7 separate regions of the Homo sapiens genome follow, and all the other regions are linked to region 2. The links are contacts of gene promoters, found by promoter capture Hi-C in blood cells and fetal thymus (Javierre and others, 2016). All regions are on one chromosome and are shown on one strand. Each heading gives the region's core, a stretch centred on a gene start or on the middle of the fragment in contact. The rest is flanking DNA. Distances are from core to core; before and after follow the strand shown. Region 1 overlaps G2E3 (G2/M-phase specific E3 ubiquitin protein ligase). Region 2 holds the start of NUBPL (NUBP iron-sulfur cluster assembly factor, mitochondrial). Region 3 overlaps AKAP6 (A-kinase anchoring protein 6). Region 4 overlaps ARHGAP5 (Rho GTPase activating protein 5). Region 5 has its middle 17 kb from the start of RNU6-7. Region 6 has its middle 27 kb from the start of RNU6-8. Region 7 has its middle 49 kb from the start of RNU6-8.

Evidence for each region. Contacts are between HindIII fragments. The CHiCAGO score rates a contact against its expected background, and 5 or more counts as called.
Region 1: a fragment that was not itself captured here is called in contact with the fragment with the promoter of NUBPL in region 2 in 1 of 17 cell types (monocytes); the score reaches 5.0 in monocytes.
Region 3: a fragment that was not itself captured here is called in contact with the fragment with the promoter of NUBPL in region 2 in 5 of 17 cell types (M1 macrophages, erythroblasts, M0 macrophages and 2 more); the score reaches 6.6 in M1 macrophages.
Region 4: a fragment that was not itself captured here is called in contact with the fragment with the promoter of NUBPL in region 2 in 3 of 17 cell types (naive CD8 T cells, total CD4 T cells and naive CD4 T cells); the score reaches 9.9 in naive CD8 T cells.
Region 5: a fragment that was not itself captured here is called in contact with the fragment with the promoter of NUBPL in region 2 in 1 of 17 cell types (total B cells); the score reaches 7.5 in total B cells.
Region 6: a contact is called between a fragment that was not itself captured here and the fragment with the promoter of NUBPL in region 2, in 5 of 17 cell types (naive B cells, total CD8 T cells, naive CD8 T cells and 2 more). The highest score is 7.0, in naive B cells.
Region 7: a contact is called between a fragment that was not itself captured here and the fragment with the promoter of NUBPL in region 2, in 16 of 17 cell types (total CD8 T cells, naive CD8 T cells, total CD4 T cells and 13 more). The highest score is 16.1, in total CD8 T cells.

What each region holds. Positions count from the first base shown.
Region 1 is chr14:30,608,784-30,611,971 of GRCh38, reverse strand. The region is part of intron 12 of G2E3 (G2/M-phase specific E3 ubiquitin protein ligase); the gene reads right to left. Among named protein-coding and RNA genes, the nearest start is that of SCFD1, 12 kb to the left of the region's middle. The HindIII fragment of the contact is 1,846 bases long and covers 871-2,716 here.
Region 2 is chr14:31,559,637-31,562,653 of GRCh38, reverse strand. NUBPL (NUBP iron-sulfur cluster assembly factor, mitochondrial) reads right to left here and starts at 1,250. Exons shown (of 11, transcript NM_025152.3): 1 at 1,107-1,250; 2 at 439-586. The coding sequence starts at 1,214. It overlaps NUBPL-DT (NUBPL divergent transcript), which reads left to right and starts at 1,323. Exons shown (of 3, transcript XR_943720.2): 1 at 1,323-1,543. RefSeq lists enhancers at 526-1,081, 1,008-1,407. The HindIII fragment of the contact is 6,263 bases long and covers 1-2,037 here.
Region 3 is chr14:32,471,434-32,474,417 of GRCh38, reverse strand. All of the region lies in intron 2 of AKAP6 (A-kinase anchoring protein 6), which reads right to left. Among named protein-coding and RNA genes, the nearest start is that of AKAP6, 140 kb to the right of the region's middle. The HindIII fragment of the contact is 4,486 bases long and covers 1-2,984 here.
Region 4 is chr14:32,103,007-32,106,106 of GRCh38, reverse strand. The region is part of intron 2 of ARHGAP5 (Rho GTPase activating protein 5); the gene reads right to left. Among named protein-coding and RNA genes, the nearest start is that of ARHGAP5, 27 kb to the right of the region's middle. The HindIII fragment of the contact is 5,331 bases long and covers 1-3,100 here.
Region 5 is chr14:32,183,123-32,186,093 of GRCh38, reverse strand. No RefSeq gene overlaps it. Among named protein-coding and RNA genes, the nearest start is that of RNU6-7, 17 kb to the left of the region's middle. The HindIII fragment of the contact is 1,787 bases long and covers 500-2,286 here.
Region 6 is chr14:32,228,930-32,232,134 of GRCh38, reverse strand. No RefSeq gene overlaps it. Among named protein-coding and RNA genes, the nearest start is that of RNU6-8, 27 kb to the right of the region's middle. The HindIII fragment of the contact is 712 bases long and covers 962-1,673 here.
Region 7 is chr14:32,251,177-32,254,171 of GRCh38, reverse strand. No RefSeq gene overlaps it. Among named protein-coding and RNA genes, the nearest start is that of RNU6-8, 49 kb to the right of the region's middle. The HindIII fragment of the contact is 2,285 bases long and covers 165-2,449 here.

The DNA of each region.
Region 1 (3,188 bases), core at 544-3,043, 950 kb after region 2:
ATAAAAAAGGAAATAACTGACATTGAAAAATTATATAGCACTAGGTAAGACTAGCTACTAGGGAGGCTGAGGTGGGAGGCCTGCTTGAGGCCAGAAGTTCAAGAACATCCTGGGCAACACAGCTAGCCCCCCTCTAAAGAAAAAAAAAAAAGGCCTGGTGTGGGTGGTATACACCTGTAGTCCTAGCTACTCTGGAAGATGAGGTAGAAGGATTTTGAGCCCAGGAGTTGGAGGTTCAGTGAGCTATGATCACACCAATGTACTCCAGCCTGGGTGACAGACTGAGACCTTATCTCTTAAAAAGAAAAGAAAAAAAAAGAGAAAAGTTACCTAGTACTAGATAGGCAAGAAAGATGACCTGAGAATTCATGAAAAAGAGTAACAGCTGAGAATTAAAAGATGGACAGAATTTTATCAAGAATATTTTAGTGAACAGCATAAACAAAGAAATACTTGGCCATTTATGTGCAAGACACTTTCATACAGGTTAGCTCTTAAAGGTACAGATGGAGAAAGTTAAAAATAGGAAACAATCCATTAACAGAAAATTTACTTGCAATTTCCTTTTCCTAAAACATTCTTAGAGATTTACATGACTTCTTTTCATTCATTCAAAATCTCTGCTGAAATCTCCTAAGTTTTTCATGACTATTCTGCTCAAAATACTATCTTTACACCCTGTCGGAGTAATAATTGGGTATATGTTGCCTCATCCCTGCAAACCCTCAACCCTGAGTTTCAGCTGGGCACATAGCCAAACTTTTGCTGCAGCTAGGTGGGGCTACATGACTGTTCAATGGGATGTAAGTAAAAACAACATGTCAAACTTCCCTGCTCTCAACTTCCACTTTTCTCCTTTAAGAGCAAGCTTCAACCATGTGGATGCAAACAATAATGCTAAGTGTTACACGATAATGAGAGGAAGGAACTCAAGTCCTTAGACGGTTTTGTAAATCACAACTCTATCTCGAAAACAGAGGGCCATCTGTATAAAGGGCCAGATAGCATTTTATGCTTTTCAAACTATATGGTATCTGTTGCAGCTACTCAACTCTGCCACTGTAGCGTGAAAGCAGTCAGATCAGTAGCAAATGGGCATGGCTGCATTCCAATGTAACTATTTACCAAACAGGCAACAAGCCAGAACGTGACTTACAGGCCATTTTTTGCCAACTCTTACCCTAAAATCTAGACAATGGATTTTACAGAACAGTAAACATCTGCCTTGTTTGAGCCACTGTCTTTCTGGGTCTATGAGATACAGAAGTTTAGCCTAAAACCTAACTTGTATATACTCCAACCCTTATCCATCTCCTTTTATTCTGTTGTATGTATGCATGTATGTATTTATGTATACATTTATTTATTTGGGATGGAGTCTCACTCTGTTGCCCATGCTGGAGTGCAGTGGCATGATCCCGGCTCACTGCCACCTCTGCCTCCCGGGCTCAAGCGAGCCTTTCAAGCAGCTGGGACTATAGGCGCGCGCCACCACACCTGGCTAATTTTTTTGTATTTTTAGTAAAGATGGGGTTTCACCATGTTGGCCAGGCTGGTCTCGAACTGCTGACCCCGGTGATCCACCCACCTGTTCTCCCAAAGTGTTGGGATTACAGGCGTGACCCACTGCGCCCGGCCATATTCTGTTTTATTTAGCATTATAATACATTTTACTACGTGATGGCATATTACATTTGTTGTTTATCTTCTGTGTTCTCTCTTAATGTAAATTCCAAGAAGGCAGATACTTTGCTTCACTACTCTATCTTTAGTAACAAAACAGTACAGAATACATAGTATTTCTTAAATAAATGAACAAACACTGGATAAAAAGTACAGAAACTGGAGTAGATAAAGCCATGAAGAGAGGTGAAGGTCTTAAATGCCCTAATGAAGAGCTTCAACTTCGTTCAACAGGCAATGAGAAGCCACTGGGGGATTCCTGAGGAAGAAAGCAATATGGTCAAAACTGTACTTTTGGAAGAATCATCCCAAATAAGAATATTAGAACAACATTCTAATTGTCTAAGCCTAGGGAAAATTTGAGTTTGGTAAAATAGGCACACTAGAAACAGGAAGGAAAGGTTGACAATAAGTCAGTCTTAGAGGCAGGTGACTTGACATATAACTGGAAAATGGAGGAGTATGAAAATGACTCTCCAAGACAGCTTGGAAGTAAGAAGTCTCTTGGAAAGAAAAGGCAAACAGGTAAAAACACAAAAAAGCCCCACAAAAAACAATCAAACAAAAAATTCTGGGAAAAATACTATTTTTATCTTAAACATGTTAGACTCAATGTGCTAGCAAGACCCAGGTCTTATCTGTATATAAAAGTCCGGGGGCTCAAAAATACAGGTCTGTAAATCATTCAGAAAGATTACAGGAGAGAAGAAGCTCTCCAAATAATAAAGAATGATGACTGTTAAGACAACACTGAAAAATGCTAAGTTTCAGGGGTAAGAAGAAGTAAGAAGCATTAAAGAAGAGAGAATCATCAGAAGTAGGAGGAAGTACAATATTAAATAAAATATTGCAGAGAAATTCTAAGTGGTAATTGCAGAAGTCACAGCAGATGAAAAATTAGAAAAGGCCTTTGGACATGGATATTTAGCTCCCTGGATATAAACTATGAACTAGCTAACTTGAGACTGGTGGTAGGGACAGAAGCCTGATTACAAGAAATAAATAGGAAATACGAAGTAGAGACAATGAAGCTTAAATATACTTTTTTTTTAGTAAAGAGGGCACAAAAAGAAAAACGAAGAATTAAAGGGTCAATTTAAAACATGATGTTAGGATAAGCAGTCTTAGGGCAAATAAACAGAATTGTTGTAATACACTGTAGCAACTCACACTTCAATAGTGCTTACTGTGTGATTTAGAAACTGAGGTTTAGTAAGATTAATATGCCCAAAGTGACACAACATATAGTAGTTATAAGAGTTGGCATTCAAAGTAAAATCTGACTTCCAAGCCTGTGCTTTTTTTTTGAGACAGTGTCTCCCTCTGTTGCCCAGGTTGGAGTGCAGTGGTGTGAGCTCAGCTCACTGTAACCTCCATCTGCCGGATTCAAATTATTCTTGTGACTCAGCCTCCAGAGTAGCTGGGATTACAGGCACATGCCACCACGCCTGGCTAAGGCCTATGCTTTTAATCATTAAACAACACTGCCTGTTAATTGAGACAAT
Region 2 (3,017 bases), core at 1-2,500:
ACAGCCTGGGTGACAGAGCGAGATTCCGTCTCAAAAAAAAAAAAAAAAACAAAAAAAAAAAGTTACTAGATGTTTTAAAAATAACAGCAACCAATTATTGAACACTAGTAAACACTAAGCTAAGTGGTTAGCTTGTGCAATTTGAATAACCATCTTATGAAAGAAGTTATCTCCATTTTACAGTTAAGTGAACTGAAGATTTGCTGTACAATCTGACCACTTTTTCCTGAGTTAAGGGGTGGGAGACCCGGCTAGTACCTACTTTTGTCTAACTCCAAAATCTAAGCGTCTACCCGCTACCAACTCCTGAAACTAAGGAATCACATGTTAGGAACTTCACAAATAAATTTTTAAAACACAAAACTATAATTTCAATAGTGTGCACTTGTCTGTTGGCATAAGTTCTTAATCAGGAATAGAATTAATATCCTATAATACCTGCTGTAGTAGATTTTCCGACTCCACCCTTTCCAGAAGCCACAACTATAACTTGTTTAACACCTTCTATCGGTTTCTGCTTTGGAAGTCCTCGGGACATGATTTGTGTTCTTCTTTGTTTTAGGGTCTCACTCCCGGCGCCAGACAACTTTAAAAAATAATAATAATAAAAAGCCGTTTTAAATAAGCCATCTCCATCATCACACTGTAAAAGCAAAAACAATCTGGGGTTTGCAATTAAGAGGGCTTTCTTTTCTAATTCTGCTCATCTTCACTATGGAGACATTTACCTACTACTACTGATAACAATTGTAAAGACACATTGCTTAAATTGAAATTTTTCTAGCAGGATACGCTGAACGTTTAAAAATGTAAAAACGCTGCCTCTTTACGGAGATAAGGCTTCCACGTGTTTTGCTTTTCTTCAATCTATTTGATAAATAACCCAAAGCCAAGAAAGCAATGTAGAATACCACATCTACGTTCTAACTGTGTTTCAAGTCCCGCCACGCCTCAGCCTGGGCCTGCCTGAAAAGTAGGCACGTCCAGCACACTGGGGGTCTCAGGAACTGAGGCGAGTCTTTGGCAAGAAGCAATGCCAGGGCATCTGCGGCCCTGCAGCCCAGCATCTGTCAGCCCGCTTCCCCCTGCCCTGCAGCACCACGGACCTGGCGCCCACAAACCATCGCTCGGCTTCCCCCAAGCGGGGCAGTGGCCCCGCCACCAGCCCGGAGCGACACCCCACCAAAAAGCAGCAGACGCTGCCAAATCCCCATGACGCGGAACGCTGCTGTGAGCCCTGCTGGGAAACTGTCGCGGGTGGCGCGGAGTGATGACGTCACGGAGCAACGCTCGGCTTTCTCTTCCTAGCAACCGGTCTTCTTTGGGTTTGTTGGCTCAGGAACCCAATCTGCATGATCTTGTTTATAGCCAGCTACAAACATTTTGCAGCGTTTTACTAAACGTTTGTGAAGTGTTGTCATATAAAACATCTCTTATGATACTTACAGAAGTCCCGAGGTAGACAGAAGACTTACCTAGTATACTCTTTTTATGGACAAGAAAACGGAGAAAGTTTAAAGAGACTTGACCCAGCTTAACAAAAGTAGGAAATGGGGGACCTTGAAAATGACCCCAGGATTTCTTACTAAGCAGTATATGGTCATTTAAATACTACCACCGTTAAGGATTTTACCTTTTTATTTTATTTTTTCCCGTGTGATCTACAGTGAGAGTCTGTTTTGCGTTGGTATTCATGGCTTGTGTTGCTGACAGTTCCCTGAAAGAAAGGTCAGGTTGCTTTACCAGCAACCTGGTAAAGAACTTTGCAAGTTCTTCCAGACTTAAGACTCATTTATTTAACAAATATTCGTTGAGCAACTACTATGTACCGAGTACTACAGTAGACTTAAAATATTCAGCATTGAGACCGACATAATTCCTCCACTAAAGGGCTTTATAATCCAGTGCAAAAGACAGAATAAGTTAACAACAAAATTGCGGTATAATATGATAAGTACAGGAGAAAAGCATTGAGGGATACAGGAGAAAGGACAAAGTGATACAAAGAAAGGGCACTCAATTCAATCAGGGGAAGCTTCTAAATTAGGTAATATCTAAGCTGAATGCTGAATCTGAATAATGTGTAGAAGTTAGCTGGGAGAATGGCAAGGAGATTGTTGTAAAGAGGTTAGAAATGGACTGCTAAGGCTAGGCATGGTGGCTCACGCGTGTAATTCCAACACTTTGGGAGGCCAAAGCAAGAGGATTGCTTGAGCCAGGAGTTCAAGGATGCAGTGAGCTATGATTGCACCACTGCACTCCAGCGTGGGCAGCAGAGTGACACCTTGTCAGAAGAAGAAGAAAGAAGGAAGGAGGAAGGAGGAAGAGGAAATTAAAAGGAGAAGAAAGAAGAAGGAAGAAGAAAGAAGAAGAGAGTAGAAGGAAGAAAGATGAAAGAAGAGAGAAAAGCCCCCGCCCGGCCAGCTGCCCCGTCCGGGAGGGACGTGGGGGGCAGCCCCCATCCGGTCAGCCGCCCCGTCCCGGAGGGAGGTGGGGGGCAGACCCCGCCCGGCCGCCACCCCGTCCGGGAGGTGGAGTCACCTCTGCCCGGCCACCCCGTCTGGGAAGTGAGGGGCCCCTCTGCCCAGCCGCCACCCTGTCTAGGAGGTGTACCCAACAGCTCATTGAGAACGGGCCATGATGACGATGGCGGTTTTGTCGAATAGAAAAGGGGGAAATGTGGGGAAAGGAAAGAGAGATCAGATTGTTACTGTGTCTGTGTAGAAAGAAGTAGACATAGGAGACTCCATTTTGTTCTGTACTAAGAAAAATTATTCTGCCTTGGGATGCTGTTAATCTATAACCTTACCCCCAACCCCGTGCTCTCTGAAACATGTGCTGTGTCCACTCAGGGTTAAATGGATTAAGGGCGGTGCAAGATGTGCTTTGTTAAACAGATGCTTGAAGGCAGCATGCTCGTTAAGAGTCATCACCACTCCCTAATCTCAAGTACCCAGGGACACAAACACTGCGGAAGGCCGCAGGGTCCTCTGCCTAGGAAAACCAGAGACCCTTGT
Region 3 (2,984 bases), core at 154-2,653, 910 kb before region 2:
AATTTCATATGGTTCACTTATTCTACGTTGGATGGAAGTGGTCTAGGAAGATTTGAGGGGTTAAGGAAGTGGCTCCATAAAGAGAAGATATTTATTCCTTGTTAATGAATTTCACCTCCTCCAAGTTGTTGTGTCACAAAACGAAACACGTGTTGAGGAAGTAGAATCGCTTCATGTGGAAAGAATTAAATTCTCTTAGCATTGATGAAAAAAGACAGTGGGCTGGGCACCGTGGCTCACACCTGTAATCCCAGCACTTTGGGAGGCCGAGGCGGGTGGATCACCTGAGATCAGGAGTTTGAGACCAGCCTGGCCAACATAGTGAAACCCCGTTTCTACCAAAAATACAAAAATTAGCCAGGCACGGTGGTGCATGCCTGTAATCCCAGCTACTTGAGAGGCTGAGGCAGGAGAATCGCTTGAACCCAGGAGGTGGAGGCTGCAGTGAGCTGAGATCGTGCCACCGCACTCCAGCCTGGGTGACAGAGATCCTGTCCCAAAAAAAGAAAAAGAAAAAGAAAAAAAGACAGTGATGCTCACATTGAGAACAGCAGCAGATCCATGACCCAGCTGTATGAGGTGTCAAGGAAGTGTAACTATTAACCAAACGAAGAAAACAGTGGTGTCCTGCCCAATGTGCTGGGATGAAAGCCACATATGTGGTGGATGAACAAGTTATTCTGAGAAACAAGACCAGGCAGTTACCTACCATCTAAAGCACTAGAATGTCAGTCCCCCCGCACCTCCCGGTAATCCACACCCCTTCAAATGAACCTTGTCCTGGCAGGTTTACTAGAGTTGCAAAATGCTTGGATCTGCAGGAATGCAAGCAGCAAGCACCTCACCCCACTAATTTGGCATTTCAAGCTCTTCTTCCTTTCTCTCTTTCTGCTTTGGAATTTTCATTAGAGTATGACATTTGACTCATTCTGAGAGCAAACATTATATTTTCTGGCTTTTCTAATTTGAAAAACAGATGGTCTCCTCACTGGCCCTAGGGAAAAAAGAAAAACTTGTTTTAACAATTTCATCTGGCTTCTACTTCTCATTTTCTAGTTTTCAAACATGTAATTCTATTATTACCTGTTGTATGTGAGGCTGTGGGCAGCCTCTGAAGTAGTAGGCTTCCTGCACAGCACTATGTCTGAGGGCCACACCTCATTCTCTCCCATCTTCACTGCAGTCCCCATCCCCATTGCCCACAAAAAGCAAAGTAAAAAATAACTCTAAATTATCATCTATGTTATAAGTATTGCTTCAAAACTTGTGATAAGAAAGCTGTAGGTCAGTCTTAGAGAAAATACAAAAACACAGAAACTGTTTTTCACATTATAGCTCCAACATTCCACAGGGATTTATATTTAGGCAAATATGTGTGTTTGGGTGAGCTTCTGGGCTCAACTTTAATCATTCTGAGAGAGAAAGAATCCAACCAGTTTAAACTAGATTTTCACTCTTTGTAACCCATGTGGCATTCCAAACATTTCTAAGCATTAGGATTACATCATTTTCTCTTTTTTTTTCCTTTAATACAAACAGCCATTATATTCTATTTTCACGACCTTTAAGTTCCCAATATCAAATTACCCAGCTGTTGTTTCAATCTCTCTTAGTTGCTAAGAGATGGTGATGGTGGCAGACCAGACCGATTTTCTTCAACATAGAATTGCAAGCTGACATAAGAGGGAACTAAATTCAGCCAGAGCACAATGAGCCCAACAGTTGGCAGCCAGGCTGTGTGTCTTTTCCCAGCTGCAGGAGACAGTTGGTGCAGAGAACCTCGTTGCCATCTCCCTGCCAACATCACTGCCATGTTTTCATGCATTCTCCACAATGCCTCTCAGCAAAGAGGGGCATTGCCATTTGCATTACAGGGATCAGTCTGCTGTAATATCGCCTCTCCTAGAATTAAGTTCTGTGGCTAAAGACCATGATCTTTTCTGGGTCAAGCCATTCTTTAGTAATAATAGAGAAAACACTTCTATTGAATGCGGTGGACAGCATTTATACTTGCCCTCCTCCTACCCCACCTTATGATCAAGACACTTATTTACCCCACCTGCTAAGCAGTGTTGACTGCTTATTGCTCTCAGCTGAGACCCTCCCTGGGACTTGCCCTCAGCTGCCTCACCCAAGGTCATGCCCTTCCCTGGGAGCTTTCCACATCCCATGTCTGCTAAATGGGAGGAGGTATAAAGCCTGGGGGAAAAGGGGAGCCACTTTAGAGTTCTGGGTAGGAATACTGCCATCTCTGTCACAGCTGCAGTTCAACTCCTCTCTCTGGTTGATTTACTTCCCTCACCTCTCAGAGGTGCTTTTCCCAAGAACTCACCCCAATAAACCTCCAGCATGTAGATCTCAGAGCCTCAGAATCCGATTCCTGGGAACCCAAACTATGACAAAAAGTAAATTCTCAAACCTCTCTTTTATCTTAAGGAACAATCCACTAGGTTTCTGTGTGCTGAAGTCTGAAAGAAATCTCATAGGGACTATTTTTCTTGGTTTACTCACAATTGTGCCAGCACAAAAATCCTGACCCAGAATGCTTAACACGCTGCGTTATCTGTGCTTCCTTAGCACAGATAACACAGTGTCCAGTGTCTTATTAGCCAAACTCCAGTCTAGAAGCAATGTCAACAGAATTACTGTTAAAATGGAGGTGAGACAGATAATAAAAACAGTTTATACCATGGATGGAGGTACATGTCTCAATGAACAATAACTGTGCAATGAAGATATTAGCTATAGCCCTGGTGGGGGGTACAGGATTCCACCTACCCAAATTGGGTGAGAGAATGTTGAAAGGGTTTACAATGAAAATTGAGTAAATGTATAATACACTTAGGAGAAAAGACAATGGCCTATGAAACTAAGTCTCAGCTCTCGCCATGGACTTGGATTCCCCCACTGACAAGAAAGACTTAAACTATTAAAAGGTTCAGCCTGCTAATTCACAGTTTAGGAAGTAGCACTATGATCTTGCT
Region 4 (3,100 bases), core at 200-2,699, 540 kb before region 2:
TGGAAAACAGTTTGGCAGTTTCTTATCCTGTATTCGAATGTTCATGACAACTTTATTCAAGATGGACAAAAACTGGAACGACCTGATGTCCTTCAACAGGTTAAAACACTGATGTATCCATATTATGGAATATTATTCAGCAATAAAAAGAACAAACTGTTGATGCACGCAACAACTTGGCTGAATCTCAAGGGCATTATGGTAAATGAAAGTCAATCCCAGAAAGTTATATGCCCTGTGATTCCATTTATATAACATCCTTGAAATGACAAAATTATAGAAATGAAAAACAGAGTAGTGGCTATCAGTGGTTAGGGATGGGTGAGGAGAAGGAAAAGCATGTAGTTATAAAAAGACAAAACAAGTTAATTTGCTAGTGGATGGAACTGTTTTACATCTTGACTATGGGAGGGACACACAAACCTATACACATGAAAAACTGCAAAGAACAAAATATACACATGTACAAATTAGTACAAGTAAAACTGGGGAAATCTGAATAAGATCTGTAGATCATATTAATGTCAACACCCTGGCTGTGATATTGTACTATAGTTTTGCAGGATATTACCATTGTGGGAAAATGGGCAAAGAGCACATGGGGTCTCTCTTTTTTTTAAAAAAAAAAACAATAGCATATGAATCAACAATTAGCTCAAAATAGAATCTTTATTTCTTTAAAAAAGGTATTTGTGATAATGCAGGTAAGAAATAATGACAACCTCAACTAGTATGAAAATGGAACGGAAGCAACACATTTTATAGCAGAATAATGAATGATAAACAGTCGAGTATGATAAATGACAATAGCATGTAGCTCTGGCCCACAGTTAACATAATCCTGAAAATATATTCTTACCCAATCACGGTGAGGCTGGGGAAGAAAACGCTATGACCTATATGGAAAACCCTACCTTTCTTATTGAACAGATACAAACATGCCTTGTATGACTGACTTCTAGAACTGCATAGACATTTTTTTCAAGACATAGTCTCCTACACCAGGGTTTCTCAACTTCAAGATTATTGGCACTTTGGGCTGTATAATCCTTTGTTGTGGAAGATGGCCTGTGAATTCTGCAATTCAGTTTAGCAATTCAATGTTTAGCAGTAACCCTGGCTTCTACCCACTAGATGCCAGCAGCAACCTCCTACTTCCAGTTGTGACACCCAAAAATGTCTCTAGACATTGCCATATGCTTCCTGGAGGGCCAAACTGACCCTGGTTGATAGCCACTGTGCTAGACTAGTAAAAACAAAGACCAATAACTCAAGTTTGGGAAATAGCTACAGATATATTTCTGAAAAGCCTGAGAATTTTAACTTTAAAAAAGGTCCATACACGACTCAAGACTGAGAAACAATACTGCAGGTTATACAAAGTTGAATGATAACCATAACTGCCCTCAGAAAGGTTATAACATAGAAAAACAAAATTAAACTACAATATAAAGTGATCAGGCAGTGAGAAGCAGCATTACATTATAGTTTAACACACTGGTGTAAGAAAGAAGCCTTCAGGGGACCCAGCACTCTAAAGGTTTATTTAATCCCTTTTTTAAGCCTATAAAAGCCGTAAGTGCTGGCTGAAAGTCCAAACACACTTCAGAAAACTTACATTGTGAAGACTCTCTCACACCCTTTATGCTAACACTAGGTGAAAAGAGGAAATAAAAAACAACAGAGTAAATAAATGTGGTCTAGGTTTTTGTACATACTTATCAGGCAAACTAATTTTAACCTTGACTCAGGAACCTTTATTCTCTAAGATAACATCTTCCTAAAAAGCATTTCAACATATATTATATATGTGGCAGATATTTTATTAATGCCATTAACAACTTAACAAAAAATAAACCTGGAGTCACTTGGAGAAAGTTCTAGCAAAGCAACTAACTATTCAAGTGAATGGGTGGATTTCTACCCAGCTTCCCCAAATTTCAGTGTCTTCCTCCTCCCTCTCATCTTATACAAGGAGTTTCTTAAACTGGGATCCACAGGCCTTTAGAAAGTATTTGAAACCGTTAAAACTCCAGTAAAATTTTGTGCATGTGCATTTTTCTAGGGAAAATACCCAAACCTTGACTCAGATTTTCAAAGGCTAAGAACAATTTCCAAAAAGTTCAAAACAATTGTTATACAATGTATGCAAGTTGTACCCTTTATTTTGACTACGATACAATCATAAGATCTCTTTTGTCATATCCTTATATTTTGTTGTAAGGATTCTAAACATCAAAAATTACTACTATTTTTAAAAAGCAACCCTCCTATGCTCTGGGGTTTCTCTTCTTTAAAAGTCACAGATTAAGCCCTATTTACTTGAGTACTCCATCCACACTTTAGCTGAGATGACAGGAAAACATTACAGAGCAAGAAATCATAACACTGCATCTACTGTAAAAAACCTCTCCTAGGATTGACACAATTTGTAGTATACAAAATTTTGGTGTACATAAATTGGCAAACCTATAAATTTACCTATAGTCTTGCAATAGTAACAACTGTCCATTAACATAAGAACACAATTATCTATGTTACAGAAGTGCCTCCTTGACACATACTTAACATTTACTATTAATCTGCTGCAGAAATGAGTAACTTCAATAATCTGTACTATGCTTTTACAAAATATTCAGTACGCTGCTATAAACACTAAGAAAAAGTTTGTATAGAAAGCCAAATTTAAATTAGCGAAAATGTATGCCACTGACATAATCTTTCCAATTAAGTCTTAACAAAATATATAAATCAGAAATATACTTTAAAAATTAACCATCTAATTACATTTCAATCTGAATTTGAAAAGCAATAAATCATGATCAAATGGACAACACAGAATTCAAAGAAATGGCAAATAGTAAAATACTGCCAGAAATACTTGCACTACATATCCACACTTATGTTATCATAAATTGGTGTAGCCAGCACCAAAAATGCTGAAGAAACAAATTTTAACTTTATGAGAAATTATAGAAACATCACAGATCTAGTTAACCAGGTAGATCAATTTAGCCAGTTACCCAGGAAGAAAGCAATAGAAATGGTACTGAAGAAAGCCTAAGTAAATTCTTTCCAGATGAGATGAAATATGAGAAAG
Region 5 (2,971 bases), core at 144-2,643, 620 kb before region 2:
TAGAACCAAAAGGGCACCTGATTTATGACAAGGTAGCACTGAAGGGCAATGGGGAAAGGGCAATCGCTTCAGTAAACAATATTGGCAGCCAGACGTGGTGGCTCATGCCTGTAATCCCAGCACTATGGGAGGCCAAGTTGGACGGATCGCCTGAGGTCAGGAGTTCAAGACCAGCCCGGCCAACATGGTGAAACCCCGTTTCTACTAAAAATACAAAAACCACTGTAATCCTAGCTACTCAGGAGGCTGAGGCAGGAGAATCACTTGAACCCGGGAGGCAGAGGTTGCAGTGAGCCAAGATTGGGCCACTGCACTGCAGCCTGCATGACAGAGCAAGACTCCATCTCCAAACAAACAAACAAACAAACAAACAAACAATAAACAATATTGACTCAACTGTATCTGTTTGCAGAAATCTTAATTTCTACCTCATGCCATACCTGAAAATTATTTCCAGATAGAATGTGTATCTAAATATAAAAGGTAAGATAATAAAGCTTCTAGAGAATAATAACATAAGAAAGTATGTTACTGACTTTGAAGTAGAGAAGGTTTTCTTAGACTGGAAGCAAAAAGTATTAACTATTGATAAGGAAAAGATTAGCTACGCTAAAATTGGGGATTTATGTTCATCCCAAAAACATCACCATTAAGAAAATGAAAAGGTAAACTCATGAGTAGAAGATATTTGCAATACATATAACCAACAAAGGGCTCATATATAAAGAATTCCAGCAAATCAATAAGAAAAAGACAACTGAAAAATGGGCAAAACACCTGAACAGGCACTTTACAGAAGAAGATATCCAAATGGCCAATACACATATGAAAAAGTCTCATTGTTATTGGTCATCAGTGAAATGCATATTAAAACTATCTTAAAAGGCTGGCACCCAGGGTTGGCAGAGATGTGGAGTATTCTAATTTTCATACAATTCCAGTGAGAGTATAAATTGATGCAACCATTTTGAAAACTATTTGTCAGTATCTGTTAAAGCTGAACGTACACATACTCTGTGATCCAGCAACCCACGTGTGTATCTACACATGATTATGCATAGAAGCATTGTTCCTAAAAACCCAAATATCTTGTCTTCAACAAGAGAATAAATTAATTAAGAAATATGTATTCAGAGCCACAACAACATAGATGAATCACACAAACATAACGTTGAGTGAAAGAAGCCAAACACAAAAGAGTCTACTCTGCCTCATTTTTATGAAGTTCCAAAACTAGTCTACTGTGCAAAACTAGGCAAAACTAGTCTACTGTGTTGGAAAACAGAATAGCCATTATCTTTTAATAAGGAGTGTAGAAAATGACTAGGCATATGGTGGGCTTCTGGAATTGTGATATTCAATCTATTTAACTGTGTGGTAGTTATACTGGTGTGTTTATTCTTCAATAATTCATCAAGCTATATACTTCTAATTTGTGCACTTTTCTACATATGTGTTAAACTTTGATTAAAATGTTCATTGTGAAAAATTAAAGCTATTATTCTGTCATAAACAGTGTCATCCACATAAACATTTTGTACTTTTCTACTTACCTTACGTACATATCTAGTCATTTCTCTATTAATCTTGTTCTTCTAATTGGAAGTATGAGATTAGAGGCTGACTGCTACTTGTCTTTTGGTTTTCTGAGGGTCTTTGCACACAGCAGGTGTTTAATAAATGTTTACTGAATTGAAACTTTAAATGATATATTAGAACTCTCTCTGGGAAGTTTTCGGCAAACATGTCATCAAACAATTACTACTGATTCACCCTTCTTCACCAACTGATCCTCTCCTTTATAATGTCCTAACATGAGACAAACATCCACAAACACTAAACAATCTATTACTGTTGCTTTGGAACATAACTATTTTGAAAAAGTTTCTCTAAGTGTTGCAAATTTTTTTCTGGGTCCTGGACTGGTGGGTATATGATCTATGGGTATAATTTGTCCATATACAGAAGTCAGGGACAGCAGCAAAATAATTTTTAATTGTCAGAATATTAAATATGTATCTAAATGCTCTACTGAGAAGCCAAGCTGTCTGTTCACTAGAATAAATATCTTTTATTCTTCATTTAAAAAGATGCTCTTATCCACACTGCACCACAAGGCCATCTGCTCTAAGCTATTTCTTCTAGTAAGAGTGAAAATGTGATGGATCCATCCATCTCTCTCTTTTCAAGGCCCATGGTTATCATATGTTGCATGTGTTTGCAGGAAGTCTGATGTGAGTTAAGTATACCATTTGTGACCACAGACCATGGCTAAGATAAGAAGCTTCTGTAACATGTTGCTTAGGGATACACAAAACAAAACCAAAAAAAAAAAGTAAAATAAGAAGCTTCTGTAGAAAGGAATATATGAAGTTGGCCTCAAATACAACATATCCTAATCAATTGACCAAATCAGGTTTTGTTAACTATATTGCTGACAGCAACTTTTTTGTGCAACCTTGCCTTCTAAGAGAGTCCTCCCACTTTTACTGGAGTCTGGATTAGGTGACCTTTTCTGAGCTGTCACACCCCCCGGGGAAATAACACTGAACTGTAATTTTCTCTTTATTGGTCCATCTCCCCCTCTAGATTATGAGGACCTTGGAGATCACATCTTTTAAAAAAATATATCTCCAATTTCTAGCATCATATTTGGCACAAAGTTGGCATTTACTAGAATTACATATTTGAATGACAGTGTTAACTGCAGACTTGATCTGTCACATTCCTGACTTAACAAGGCTCCACTGTTAATATTTAGCCATGCCTGGAGACTAACTGTTAACTCACAAATCTGAATTTGTAGTGAGGTGTTTAATAGTAGAATTAAACTGAACATCTTGGAAGCAGAACGTGAAAGGGTATTGATTGCTAATCACATAAAATTAGACTTCTGTTTCTGGCATATGAGAGCCAGATACCCTGAGGAATTCTCTTGGAACAGAACACCAGGGGGAAAAGATTTTAAATA
Region 6 (3,205 bases), core at 68-2,567, 670 kb before region 2:
CTGGTCTAAACACTGTAAATACTAACTTACTCAATCTTCACAATAACCCTAGGAGAAAGGTACTATTTTTACCACTGCCACTATACAGATGAGAAAACTGAGGGGTAAAGTTCAGCAACTCTTTTAAAGTTGCAAAGCTAAAAACTGGCAGCACCAGAATTCAAACCCAGGCAGGCTGGTTTTAGCATCCATACAGGCCTTACCCACTGCCCATACTGCCCCCTCTTGCTCTCTGTAACTGGTTCTTTCTATAATCATTCATTCAAATATTGCTTAGGCCCCTACTATGTACCTAACACCTTACCAGGAATTGAAGAAAGATTACCAGTATTTGACAGGATACCTCCCTCAGAGAGCAGTAATCTAGATGGGCAAAACCAGTGAAAGAATATAAGAAGGCTGTTACTAAAATGTGAGGTGAGGCAATGCATGCTAGGGTACCAGGAGGACTTGAGCACTGGCACAGACAGGAGGGCCTCACAGAGCACTGAAGGTGAGTTTCCAGTAGGGAGAATAACATGTGAGCAAAGATGAAAGTGAAGAGAAGGACTGCAGGAGGAAGGAGGTAACCCCTTCCCATGCCAGGCTCTGCATTCCTGTTTCACATGTATTATGTATCTCATTTAGTCCTCCTGCAGGCCTATGAAACATCCTTAAAAAAGAAAATGAGGTGCAGAAATTCCAGCAATTCATACATGATCACACAACAACCAAGTGACAGAGCTAGGTTTGTCTGCCTCCGACACCCTTTCTCTAAACCTGGAACCTTTTCACACAAGCAAATGCCAACCGATGAGGCCAGGGTAATAGGCAAACGTTGACAGGGCCAGGAAGAATCTAACCATTCTGATTTCTAGAACCCTTAATGGGCTCTTTGTCTTTCTTCCATTCCCCAGAGGAGGAGTACCTGCATTTTCAACTTAGAAATCTCCTCCTACGGTGTTCCCACTGCAAATAAGCTTCCTCTCTACAGACTGACAAATAGTGATTTGCCTATTTGCAGCCCTCTAAAGCCAGCCAAGCCAACCAGAGAATGGGCCTGGCTAAAGCAGGCTCTGGCTCGTGGATCCAGTTGGTGAGGGGATACAGGCCAGGCTTAGGGAAACTCAAGGATCCCCTAATACAGCTCCTTTCCCTCCTAACAGGGAAAAACTGAGGCCCAGAGAAGGGCATGAGTCACTCAAGGCTGTACATTCCCCTATCCCCAACACACACAAAAAAATTCTTAACCCCATAAAAGTGCTTTGGCAAGCAGGGATCTGAAATTCCTGCAACAGCTTGGGGAGGAGGTAACTAAGAATCTGCCTTCCCACATAGTCTGTCTTTAGACTCCAGTGCTGCTAAGAGTAACAAGTACAAATCTGTTTACTTAGCAAGGTTGAGGCTTGACTCAAATTTTGTGTTGTCAGGATGGGGATGGGGGTGGAAGGGCATCTAAATGTGAATCATTAGATCTTAATCAGCAACGTGGGGAGTGGGATGTTTTGGGAAAGTGTACCTTCTTGAGCACCTTGGACTTGCTTTATTCCCTCTCCAAGGAAAGTAGGCCTGATGGTACAGCAACCCCTTGCAGCCTCTTATAAGAGGCTCATAGTACTCATCACTGCCTATAACAGAAATATAGATGTTGTGATGCTTCTGCCTGTACCCTTAGGTGGCCCTCTAAACAAGCTTTAAGTAGTACACCTAACTGCAGCAAAGGAGAATCTGCTGGTCAAAGAGCAAAAGCAGCACCTATTACTTCATTGTCAGAGTGTTTAAAATGTGTATCAAGGTCATTACTCATCAAATTTTCCCTCTGGGAACAGATAAAGTCCGTTGTTCTTTCTAAGGCCAAACGACTGTGTGCTGCCTGCCATTAATATTTCCTGTCACTCTTCAATTCCATTTTCACTAATCATCACATTAGACCATAGCCAAAAGACGTAACTTTAAAAAAATGTGCTTACCTTAATGTGCTCAGAGTATTTATAGGTCAATTTCCCTGCTGGTTACTATTAGCATAGTTTTATAATGTATAAAGAGTATTTCTTCTCATTCTCTTTAACATTAGGTAAAATCCTCAGAGGGAGCAGAACCTAGATATGTTTAAATAAAACAGACCAATGACCTAGGGCTATAGCATTCACACAGCAGTGGTTTGATATGCTTTTTCCCCCCCCTATTCTAGGACTTACTGACCAAAAGCACACTGAATTATTTAGGAACCTAGAGACTGGATGACCCAAAGGTGAGGAAGGTGGACCTTTCCCTCTGTCTTTAAATTCTCTATTCCCCAAGTATGCCTCTCTGTGTTTGCCTTCTAGCTCTCTGGCTACTCACAGTTAGGTTTATTTTGTACCTCCCTTTCTGCCAAGACAATAAATGTTGGTATTTCCTTGAAAAAATGCATCTACTCCCATATCTATTCCCATATCTACATCATAAACTCCCAAATTTGTACTTCAATTGATAGCTCTCTTCAGAACTTCAGGTCCATTCATCCAACTGCCACCTACACATCTCTAGGATGTCCCACAAGCTCCTCAAACTCCAACTGTAGAAAACTGAACCCACTGTTTTCTCTACCACCTTTCCTCACCCATTTCTTTCTATGGTCCCTGTCTTATTGATGGCACCACACTCCATCACTGCCCAAATCAAAGACCTGGGAATCATGCTTCACCCTTTGCTCCTCCTCACCCAAACTTCCTCACATCCTGCCAATTCCCTCTCTTGAATCCATCTACTTTTCTCCACTCACTAGCCTAGTTCAGGCCAAAATCCTCATTTCCCCAAATTGCAATAACAGCGCCCTTACCTGTCTTCCAATCCATTCTTTACATTAAGCCCAGTAATCTTTATAACATATATATCTTAGCATGTCACACCCCTTGCTAAAAACCCTTCTGTTACTCCGCTCTGTTTTAGGGTGAAGCCCAAATGCCTTCACCAACTGAAGAGACCTGTACAAGTTGGCTTTCAGGCTGGGTGTGGTTGCTCATGCCTGTAATCCCAACACTTTGGGAGGCCGAGGTGGGCGGATGGCTTGAGGTCAGGAGTTCGAGACCAGCCTGGCCATCATGGTGAAACCCCATCTCTACTAAAAATTAAAAAAAATTAGCAGCCAGGCACGGTGGCTCACGCCTGTAATCCCAGCACTTTGGGAGGCCAAGGCAGGCAGATCACAAGGTCAGGAGTTCAAGATCAGCCTGACCAACATGGT
Region 7 (2,995 bases), core at 58-2,557, 690 kb before region 2:
AAGTAGGTCACTTGCTCTCTAGGATTCAAAGAATATGGGCCTGCATTACTCTGTTTCTGCCCTGAACAGGAAAGTTAAAAGGAAACACTGCACAACAAGAAAATCCACAGCACACAGCTATTTAAGCAGCTGTGGCTTGGGGGTCAGGTCTATCACTGAAAGCTTTATAGATAATCTTCAAAACTAATTTGACCCACAAAAGTAAAACCAACTGGGCTTTCCCAAAAAATCTGCAAAAACCATATTCATAGTATCACCCTCCCTTCCAGATAATTTATAGTCAGAAATTGAACCCAAGAATAAATGCCCTAGAAATATTTTTTTAAATAGCCTAAATTTGACTGTCAAATCATGTTCCTTCTCCATGTTTTTTTTCAGTGTCTAATCTGGTCCTACTCCTACCCCCAAATAATTTTCCAGGGGTCCCAGGGGTGCCCCATGCTCTACACACCTTCTTTTTTTTTTTTTTTTTTTGAGATGGAGTTTCGCTCTTGTTACCCAGGCTGGAGTGCGATGGCACAATCTTGGCTCACTGCAACTTCCGCCTCCCGAGTTCAAGCAATTCCCCTGTCTCAGCCTCCCAAGTAGCTGGGATTACAAGCATGCACCACCACGCCCGGCTAATTTTGTGTTTGTAGTAGAGACGGGGTTTCTCCATGTTGGTCAGGCTGGTCTCAAACTCCTGACCCCAGATGATCCGCCTGCCTCGGCCTCCCAAAGTGCTGGGATTACAGGTGTGAGCCACCGCACCCGGTCCTACATCTTCTTGGATGCTATCTGCCACACAAAATAGAATAAGAGCTAGAAGGGACCTGACAGGAATACAGCTACTTCTATAGATAAGGAAAACTTGGTCCTGAAACAAACTCACCAAGGCTACAGCTTGCTAGTCCCAATATTGTAATTCCACCCCCCAGTGTCCCATCCCTCTAGGTCTCATCAGGTCATTCATTTTCACTAGAAGTAAGTGTAGGTCAAAGCAACTGGATTCATTACTACTCCTCTCAGAAAACAACTAACAAGGGGTTTTGGTTGAGAAATTTCAGAAAAAAACTGGTTGGTTGGTGGGGAACAATTTTGAACGATGGGTACTTTCCATGTCCTCAAATCACATTCTGCCTGTAAATAAATCACACTTCAAAAATACAAACATAAGAACTGATCTGTAGTGACCCGCTTATTGGCAACTGTAAAGAATGTAAGCTGCATGAGGAGAGAAACTCTGTTTTATTCACATCTGTATTTCCAGTATGTAGAATAGAAGCTGGCACTGAATAGCAGCTCAACAGCAAATATTCGTTAAATGAACAAAATGAAGAAAGCATCCCTCTTTTCTTCTCTCTATAGTCCATCCCCACCCCCATTTTGTTCTCTTAAGGTCTAGTTTCCTTAATCAAAACTATGTTCTGAGGTAAATATCTACCTGTCATTTATACTTTCGTAGCCTTTAAGTCACTGCTTGGAGTGTTTGGAATTTCAGTTTCACATCTAACAAAAGGCTTTGAACCCCCATCGCAGGTCTCCAGTCTCAGCCAACAATGGAAGGCCTTTGTGGCCAGGCCTTTCTGCACATATGGCCAAGATTTGGATTCTTTGGAAGAATAGCAAACTATTCATTGGAACAGCTCCCTTCCCCAGTGACCTCTTGATTCCCTCCTGTGGCTCTCCTTAGCCTTCATATCCTTGTAAAGTAATCTAAAACCCTATCTTCCTGCTGTCTTTATCTTCCTTTCTCAGCTGTCAAAACCTGGAAGACATGCTGCTGTTGCATATTTAGCCTCAACTATATTGTTTAATAAATGCCAAGTTGCCAGTTTCTCACACTCCACTCTATGAAGCCAGAACACCTCACCTTACTGAGTTAACCAGGAACCCATGCTCACCCTATAATACACTAGGGGGTGCTGTTGCTATATCCAGACCCAGTTGCTGTAGCCCGACTGGAAACAGGAAAAGGAAACAAGGGAGCCTTCAGGGTCCTGAGAGACATTTCTAGATGGGCCACTCTCTGCACAAGCCCTCAGCACAGTTCCTCAGAAGCAAAGAACATTATACCTTACCAAGCCACACAATTCCAGAATGAAGTTCACAAATGGTACAAAAAGAAGGGAGGGCTGAAGATCTCCAAGCGAAAGGCTTTATTGTAAGACTCATTAACATACATGGGCCTACACAATCATATTTATGCCAGCTGCTAGATGTGAATAATTAATGCTCACCCTGCTACCAGTTAAAACTCTGTTTAGACAATCAAGTGGCAAATACTGTCAGGCAGAATCGGATACAACAAATGCAATCATAACAGGCGAGAAATACTTGAGTTTATCACTGATTTTCACAATCATCTTTCCTTGTATGTGATATCTAAGACTTTGGGAATGAAAGTTTTATATACAAACAAATGAGTATCCACCTCTCTCAGCCCGCGGCTTGGCTGCTGCACAAAGCTTCCAAGCTGCCAGGGAAGCCTCCTTGGCCTCACTTAACTCTTTGCTGAAATGACTGGTAGACCCCATATGACAGAGAAAGCTCTCACATACATCAAAAAGGCTTTTGGCCTTTCAAATTTCTGAATAAGTCATCATGAAAAAAGAAATATTTTGTTGGGTTTGTGGATTTTTTTAAGATAAGTTTTAAAATGTGCATTTTAAAAAAATTATCTGAACGAGACCCTCACCTAACAGTGTGAACGTTAAACATTCCCACACAGAGAAGAATGGATCTCCACCAAGGGAAATATGTCTGGTATTAATCCAAGAAGAAACAATCTAGCTCACCCTCCCTGCCCCACAAGCTAGGGTTTCATACCCTTTGTGGTATGATTTGCAGTACTCCTCACAAAATGCTAGTAAGAACTCATTAATGCTAACAATTGAATTGGAACTATCTTTGGCTCCAAAAGCAACCCAGCCAAGCTAGAAACTTGAAGGATCCCAAAGTAAATCAAGAGGAACTAAGACAAAGGTGCCATTCTAGGGCCAATCTTCACAGAATG